Linked DNA regions of Homo sapiens: region 1 is linked to region 2. Evidence: promoter capture Hi-C in human tissues and cell types (Jung and others, 2019). All regions are on one chromosome and are shown on one strand. The core of a region is centred on a gene start or on the middle of the fragment in contact, and the rest is flanking DNA. Distances in the headings are between cores, read along the strand shown.

The links. The method cuts DNA at HindIII sites, captures the fragments that hold promoters and counts their contacts. A contact is called where the count stands out against the background at its distance.
Region 1: a fragment that was not itself captured here is called in contact with the fragment with the promoter of TMEM132E in region 2 in 3 of the 25 tissues and cell types used here (IMR-90 fibroblasts, liver and spleen).

What each region holds. Positions count from the first base shown.
Region 1 is chr17:34,506,029-34,509,817 of GRCh38, reverse strand. No RefSeq gene overlaps it. Among named protein-coding and RNA genes, the nearest start is that of TMEM132E-DT, 71 kb to the left of the region's middle. RefSeq lists an enhancer at 1-38. The HindIII fragment of the contact is 6,433 bases long and covers 1-3,789 here.
Region 2 is chr17:34,577,474-34,581,268 of GRCh38, reverse strand. It overlaps TMEM132E (transmembrane protein 132E), which reads right to left and starts at 1,687. Exons shown (of 9, transcript NM_001304438.2): 1 at 126-1,687. The coding sequence starts at 192. TMEM132E-DT (TMEM132E divergent transcript) reads left to right here and starts at 1,900. Exons shown (of 2, transcript NR_160787.1): 1 at 1,900-2,398; 2 at 3,649-3,795. RefSeq lists enhancers at 1,663-2,198, 2,199-2,735. The HindIII fragment of the contact is 28,166 bases long and covers 1-3,795 here.

The DNA of each region.
Region 1 (3,789 bases), core at 886-3,385, 72 kb after region 2:
GACACTGCCCATATTCATCGTCTGGCAGAATCATAGGTAGACAAAATATTTGCATATTTAAGTCACTGTATTTTGGGATGGTTTGTTATTCAGCAATAGCTAATTGATGCAAACACCCACCAAAAAAATCACAGTAATTCCTTAATGTCATCAAATACCTAATCAGTGTTGACATTGCCTTCATTGTCTCATAGACTTTTTTGTTTTGTACTTGCTATTATCAAGATCCAATAAGACCTATCTGTTTTGATTGGCATGTCTCTTAACTTTCCTTTAATCTACAGTTTTCACTTCCAATTCCAATCTTTTTTTCCTTCTTGCTGGGTCCTTTTTCCTGTAGATTTTCCCATAATCTGATTTTACTGAATGCTATGGTGGATTCCTGTATCCCTAAATTTCCTATAGGTGGGGAGCTGGATATATCTGGAAGCTTGATCAGATTAAGGTTTGATTTATTTTTGCCAAGGTCACTACACAGGTGGTCTTGTGTTCTTCTATGGGGAGGTATCAATGTCTAGTTGTCTTTCCTAGTTCTACTAATCCATTAGTTGCTACAAAATGATACAGCAGTTATTCATTCTTCATTTATCATTTATTTGTTATTATTTATTTATCATTTATTAGGACTGTGATACTTCTATATAAATTTCTTCTTATAAAGTATTTGGTTACCCAGTGGTATCATTTGTGTAGGAAAGGCAGGATAAATGTTTGACTTTTTTCCCTTTATTTGCCACTTTTCAAAACAAGTATCATAATAAACTCACTAATTTAAACATTTTGATGTATTTTAATACAGGGTAGTTATTGTTCTTATTGATGCTTAAATTATACCATCTTTGACCAATGGGAGCCTAGTTATTTTGGTTCCCTTGACATTTTGACAGAAATCCAATAATCTTTGATAATGTTTGGTAGTTTCCTTGTTTCTAGTTTATTTTGTACTTTTTCTTCTCCTGGTTTTAGAATTAGCCTTTTTCCTAAGGATACTCAGTTTTTTTTTTTGACACAGTTATACATGATGTTTTATAGGTTAACTATGATAGAAAAAGCCTTGATAGGCTTCTTTGTTAGAAAGGAAAGGCCAAATATTTTCCAGGAATATTGGAGGTTCAGTTCCTTGGCACAGATAGGTGGTTTTCTCTGAAATTAATTTGGAAAATTCTATCAGGTGAGAGCATATCATTGTTGTGTTTGTAAAAAACAATGGCCAATAGAGATAACAGTTTATGAAAAACCACTGTTTTCTATAATGAAGAAGAAGACATCTTATCTTTGTAAACAAAGGAGCAAAGGAAAGTGTGATTTCAGAACTGCTTGGTTCTATGTACTGGAGATTCAGATGTGGGGAGGCACTCAGAAGTGTGACTTTTGGTCTCAGTCCTGTTTGGAGCCCTTAGCCCTAAGTCAGAGAATGTACACAATCTACCTGGGGAGGCTGAGCTGCCCACTGGGGAACAGAGGTTCTTGGGTGTTCCACTGCTCCCAAGTCAGAATCCTGGGTCTCCTACTAATACCTGGGCAGTTCACTTTTCTCAGGTCCTCTTTTCTTTTATGAGGAATGGAGGTAACTACTTCAGAATGCGTTTTGGATGAAATGAGATGACCACATGAGACAGCAACAACTTGTGCTCAGCTTGGGCCCCTTTCTTTCCTTTCCTTTCCTTTCCTTTCCTTTCCTTTCCTTTCCTTTCCTTTCCTTTCCTTTCCTTTCCTTTCCTTTCCTTTCCTTTCCTTTCCTTTCCTTTCCTTTCTCTCTCTCTCTCTCTCTTTCTTTTCTTTCTTTCTTTCTTTCTTTCTTTCTTTCTTTCTTTCTTTCTTTCTTTCTTTCTTTCTTTCTTTCTTTCCTTCTTTCTTTCCTTCTTTCTTTCTTTTTTGACAGAGTCTCGCTCTGTCTCCCAGGCTGGAGTGCAGTGGTGCATTCACAACTCACTGCAGCCTCAACCTCCTGGGCTCGAGCAATCCTTCCACCTCAGCCTCCCGAGTAGCTGGGACTACAGGTGCCTGGCTATTTCTTTTTTTTTTTTGTAGAGACAGGGTCTCACTATGTTGCCCAGGCTGGTCTCAAACTCCTGAGCTCAGGCAATCCACCCGCCTCAGCTTCCCAAAGTGCTGGGATTATAGGCATGAGCCACCACGCCCTGCCAGGCTATTTTCTTTTGTGTTTCCCATCCTTGCTTAGGAGCTCTACTGCACCCAGGCTTCTTCCATCTGCTTCTTCCCCCAAACTAAAGTACTGTGTGTGTCAGAAAGCCCTGTCACTGCTCTCAGGGAACTGAGGTGGGAGGGAGGAGGCAGTGTGTGAAACCTTAACCCAGAGCCTGTGAGTTTCCGAAGTGGGTCCCCAGGTTCACACAGCCTCATGTGGGGTTCAGCAGGGTCTGGGATTTGTTCCTGCTGGGAACGCAGGATGGTTAAGACTTTTCCTGACCTCCTACCCTAGATGATGATGATGAATTTGATGATGCCAGCAATAATAATTATAGATAGCATTGACTGAGCACTTTGTATGTGCCAGGGTCTGTTCTAAGTATTATATATGTGTTTCTATCTGTTCAAGCTACCATCATCTCTCTTCTGGATCATGCAATAACTTCCTAACTGGGCTCCCTGACTTTGCCCTTGCTGCCCTACTGTCTATTCTTCACAAACTGCCCAGAGAGATTCTTTTAGAACACAAGTCAGATCATGCCACTCCTCAAAGGCTTTCAGTGATTTCTTATCTTACTCTGAATAATAGACAATGCACAGACAATGGACATCTCCAGGCCCCTCATTATCCGATCTCTCACTATTTCTCTGGTCTCATTTCTATCCTATAAAAAAAGGGCATTTCCCTCTTTAGCCACACTGGCCTCTTGGCTCTTCCTCAGCTCTGTCAAGCATGCTCCTGCCTCAGAGTCTGCCTAGGCTGTTCCCTCTGTGTGGACCTCTGCCCTTCCCAGCCCATTCTCTCACTTCCTTCAGGTCTCTGCTCAAATCTCACCTCCTTGGTGAGCCTTCCCTGATTATTCTGTATAAACTGGCATCCCCCATTTTGTCAATTTCTAGTCTCTTATCTGTATGTGAAGCACATAAGACAGTGATAGGTGCATAATAGATACTCAATAAATACGTGTTGAGTCAATGAATGGCTATTAACTCACGTAATAATCTCAATAGGTATGATTATTTTTCCAGTTTTACAGAGGAAGAAACCCAGGAAAAACTACAACTTACCTTAACCAGCAATTTGCTCAAGATTACATAGAAAGAAAATGAGAAGATGGGATTGGCAGACCAAACTGGAAAATGGGTACCAATACTGAGAATCTATGTGCCACACTACCTCTTTCCTTTCCTTTTCTCTGCTGTTGTGTTTTATAGGGGATTCCTTCCTCAGCAGGATCCACATGCACTGGAATTCTGTCCTGACTCCATGTTTGCCTCTTTGCTCTAGAATTTAGGCTGGACAAAGCAGAAGGAAATCCAAGGTCCCCTTGACCTCCATGATGAACAGCCAGCTCCATGCATGCCACTTCCTTACTGCTCAGAGCCTGCTCAGGCTATTCCAGCAGAAGGATTCTCCATCTCTGCAGACTCACCTGCTCCACAGACTAAATGGGAGATGAAAGAAGATGAAGGAGAGAGGAGGCATCCTCAATAACTTCTCTGTTCCTTCTGAAAAATTTCCTGTCTACATCCCAGAGACTTGAAATGCACAGAAATCTAGGGAAGAGGGGTCTAAAGCAGAACAGTTGACTAGGGCCATTTGATGCAGCCATTTTAACGTGTAAAAATGGCCACATT
Region 2 (3,795 bases), core at 438-2,937:
ACGCCAAACCCGGAGTGGCGGCTGCGAGTCCAGGGGGTGTGGGTGCTCCTCTCCCCAGTCTTCCCCGTACCCCCTCCAGTGGCGCCTGCCGCATCCTCACCCCCAGTCCGCGCCGCGACACTTACCGTGGGCGAGTAGCGCTGAGAGGCAGAGCAGGGCGGCGCCGCCGCGGCCCGACATCCCCGGGGCCATGGCCGAGGCGGGGGCGGGAGGGGTCCGAGAGAGCAACAGTCGACGACGACTTGGCCCCAGGCTGGGCTTGGTCACATCCAACTCAGGGCTGCCGTGGCGCCCGGCTGTCTCAGATGCAGCTCCGGGACCAGAGAGTGCAATTCGGGGACACTTTGCGGGGAGGGGGCGTCCCAGGCGCTGGCGGCTACACCCTCGGAGCCGGTGGGGGCGCAGCTCCGGGCGGGAGGAGCCTCCACCTCCCCCAGCTGGTGCCCCCTGCAGGATCTGCGAGGCGCGGGGGGAGCTGCACGTGCAGTCCGGAGCCCGGTGGCCGCGGGCGTCCCGGGGGCTACCTAGAGCCCAGTGCTGAATCTCCCGGCCTCACGGCCCAGCTCGAATCCGAACTCACTCGAGGGTGCCGACTTCCAACGCAATCCCCAGTTTCCTCGGTTTCGGTAGTAACCGCACATGGATAGCGCCGCTTTCTTCCTCCAAGCCCCTGCAGCAGCCCAGCATAAAAATCCCAGGTCAGGTGCAAATGAATGCTGTCTTTCTCAAAGAAAGAGAAAATCCAGACAACTTTAATCCATCTGGAGAAGGAAAAGTTTCCGTGCGGTGCTGAAACTGGCGACGCCGGTCGCCACCACCCTAGGCGACGCCCAGACCGGATGCCCGAGGCGGGCGGCCAGATGTTTGTCCCCTCGCAAGGCTCGCTCCTCCGCTCCAGCGCGCTTTCTCCAGTCTGGATCAGGGCCCAGGCTCCACACAGGCCGGCTCAGCGCCTCCTGCCCAGGCAGCCGCTCGGCGGCTGGGGCAAGGGTGGCGCGGCCAGAACGGGCTGCCCCATGTAGATGGGGCTTGGAGAAGCGAGGGAGCGAGAAAGCCGGCTAATGCGCCCTGCCCCGAGCCCTTCCTGCCCAGGACGTCGACTCCAGCTTGATGACCATAAACGCTGTAAGATGCAGAGGGGCTCCTGCAGCTCACGGCAGCTCCGGGCCACCCCGCTAAGGTCTCGCTGTCTCGGCAGAGAGGCGCGCTGCCCCGCCTCGCTCCTCGCCTTCCCTGGGGGAACCTGCACAAACCTTGAACTTTTCTGGGGTTCAGAGTCTCCGACGCCTCCTCCCCGCCGCCCCCACCCTGTCCCCGGACGCCCGTTCGCCCGCTGTCTCGATGCTGCCGGGCATCGGCTCCCGCTCCCTCCGAGTCAGTTTGGGCGAGCGGATCGCCGCGCCAGTCCGGGCTGCGGGCGGTGAGACGCGGGCGCGGCGCCAGGGGCCAGGGCAGCCGGCACCTGCGCAGCTTGCGGCCAGGGAAGCGGCAGCTGGTGCCTACGGGGCCGAGAGGAGAGGAGGTGCTGGCAGGGGAGCCGGCTCCCCATGGACGTGTGTGGGGGAAGAAGAAGAATCGAGGAGCAAAAAGGAAGAGGAGGTGGGGGAAGCCACAGTTGCACGAAGCAGCCGCCGCCGCCGTCGCCGCCTCCTCGGCGCTCGCGCCGGCTGCTCCGCCGTAAATGACTCGAGAGAGACACACACACTCGCGCTCGCCCGCCCTCCTCCTCCGTCCGGGATTCAGCGCCCACCCGGGCAGAAGCGGGCGCCGAGCTTGGCGCGCTCACTCCCACCCCTCCCAGATTCCCCGTGGTCACGTGGCCCCCGAGCGCGCGGCCCACAGCTCGCGCGCCACGGAGACTCCCCGACTCCTAGCTCCCCCTCCTCTGTCCACGTGTCCATTCCGCATTCCTAGCCTGGCGGCGCGCGCGGCTCCTTAATGAGACTCGGGCCAAGGGCCGACCTCGCGATTCCGCTCGCCCCTATTTTATGTTTGATTTTTCCTTCCCAACGCCGGCTAGCGCTGGGACCCGAATGGGGCCGGCCAGCTGCGGCGGGAGGAGCCTCCACCTCCCTCAGCTGCGTTTCTCCAGGGTAGACGCCACCGCAGTCACTGATGTCCCTTTTCAAAGGATGCACGCTCCCCACCGGGCGCCGGAGGTGTTTTGCAGCCGCTCTTCCAGAGGCGCGGGTAGGGGGCACCCTACCCCCACCCCCAGAGTTCGCTGGGCACTGGCTGGGAATCAGCCTCGCTGCTGTGCCCAGCTCCTCTCGGGCCGCGGGGGCTCTGGGGCTCAGCTTCGTGCGGGATGGGTCCGGGGCGCAGCTGTGGGAAACCTATTTATTCTGTTGCTGGGGAAGGAAGACGGAGAAGAGGAGGGGACAGTGCTTTCCTACAGGTTGTTTAGCAAGCCTTTAAAGAGGCATGAGGTGGGGGTGGGGAACTGCCCCTCTTGCATACTCACCCAGGCACCTGCTGACTAGCGGGAGGGGTGGCTGGAGTGATATCTGTTCCCACCATCAGGCCCTTTCCATTAGAGTGCAACCTAGATCAGACCCGGCAAGTCAACCTTCACACCTCATCTGTCAACCAGGCATCGGATCCATGGCAATGATTTTATAGCTTCGTTGGGTATCAACTCCAATCCCCAGAGGGTGAATTTCAATCCTACCCTGCTCTGGAGGGACAGGGTCTTCAATCCCATGGACATATCCCTACTGGGGAGGATATGGATCTTGAGGGTCACCCTTCCATACCTCTGCACTCAACTGGAGTGAGAGTGTGGGGCCAGGTCAGAGCAAAGCCAGCTGGGGCACTCAAACCGTGCCCTCCATCTGCCTGACTCCATGCTAGCCCTCTTGACCCTGAGAGTTTCCTTTCATCTAGGACGGTGACATTTTGTTTTTGGAAAATGTGCTTGCATTTTTCATGGAAGGCTTCCTCCTCCCTGGCTGCTGGCTGTTGCTGCCTCGCTTGGTACTGGGGCCTGTAGAGGGCTGCTCTGGCCCTTCCCCCACCCCTACATCTGTCTGGAGCTGGGGGGAGGTGCAGCCTGAGGAGAGCTGGCCAGCTCTTGGAGGCCCTGGGGATAGAAGGTGCTGGAGTCGTCAAAGAAGATTATTCTCATTAGGCCCCTAATGCCTGATGGCAATTAATGTCACCCAAGGGCTTATTCACCAACCCCCTGAGAAGCAAGCTAGCAATCAGGCTCTGTGTGGGGGAGAAAGGGGGAAAGATCCACCTCCTGAGGCAGAGGAGGGCTTCAGGAAGAGGAGGAAGGAAGCAGGGAGGGCCCTCCATCCCTGCCCAGCACCCCATCAGAAGGGTCATGGAGCCTGAGCATGGCCAGAAGGAAGAGACAAGGTGCTTTTCTGAGCCCAAGACACACCTTACCCTGTGTTGTGGATCAAATTTCCTTTCTCCTCAAATGTTCCCAGTTGACGCTAGGGTCTGAGGGGCAGCAATGTTGCATCTCTCCCAGCCATCTGTGGAAATAGCACAGTGTTCTGGTCAGGGTGGGCAGGGACTCAGACATAGAATTCTTCTCTCTGCAACCCCATCTCACCCCACCCCATAGCTCTTATGTGACCTTCCTTTGTGATTCAGTTTCTCCTCCTCCCTCCCTGTCTCTGTCCCTCCCTTTCACAGTAGTATGGTGCATATCTCCAACATCACAGGCATTGTAGGTACAACAGTGAGCAGGACAAAACCAGCTCTTGTCCTCATGGAACTAACTTTCTAGAGGGGAAGGCAGACACTAAGCTTCTAATTGCTTGCAATTGTGGTGTGATTTGG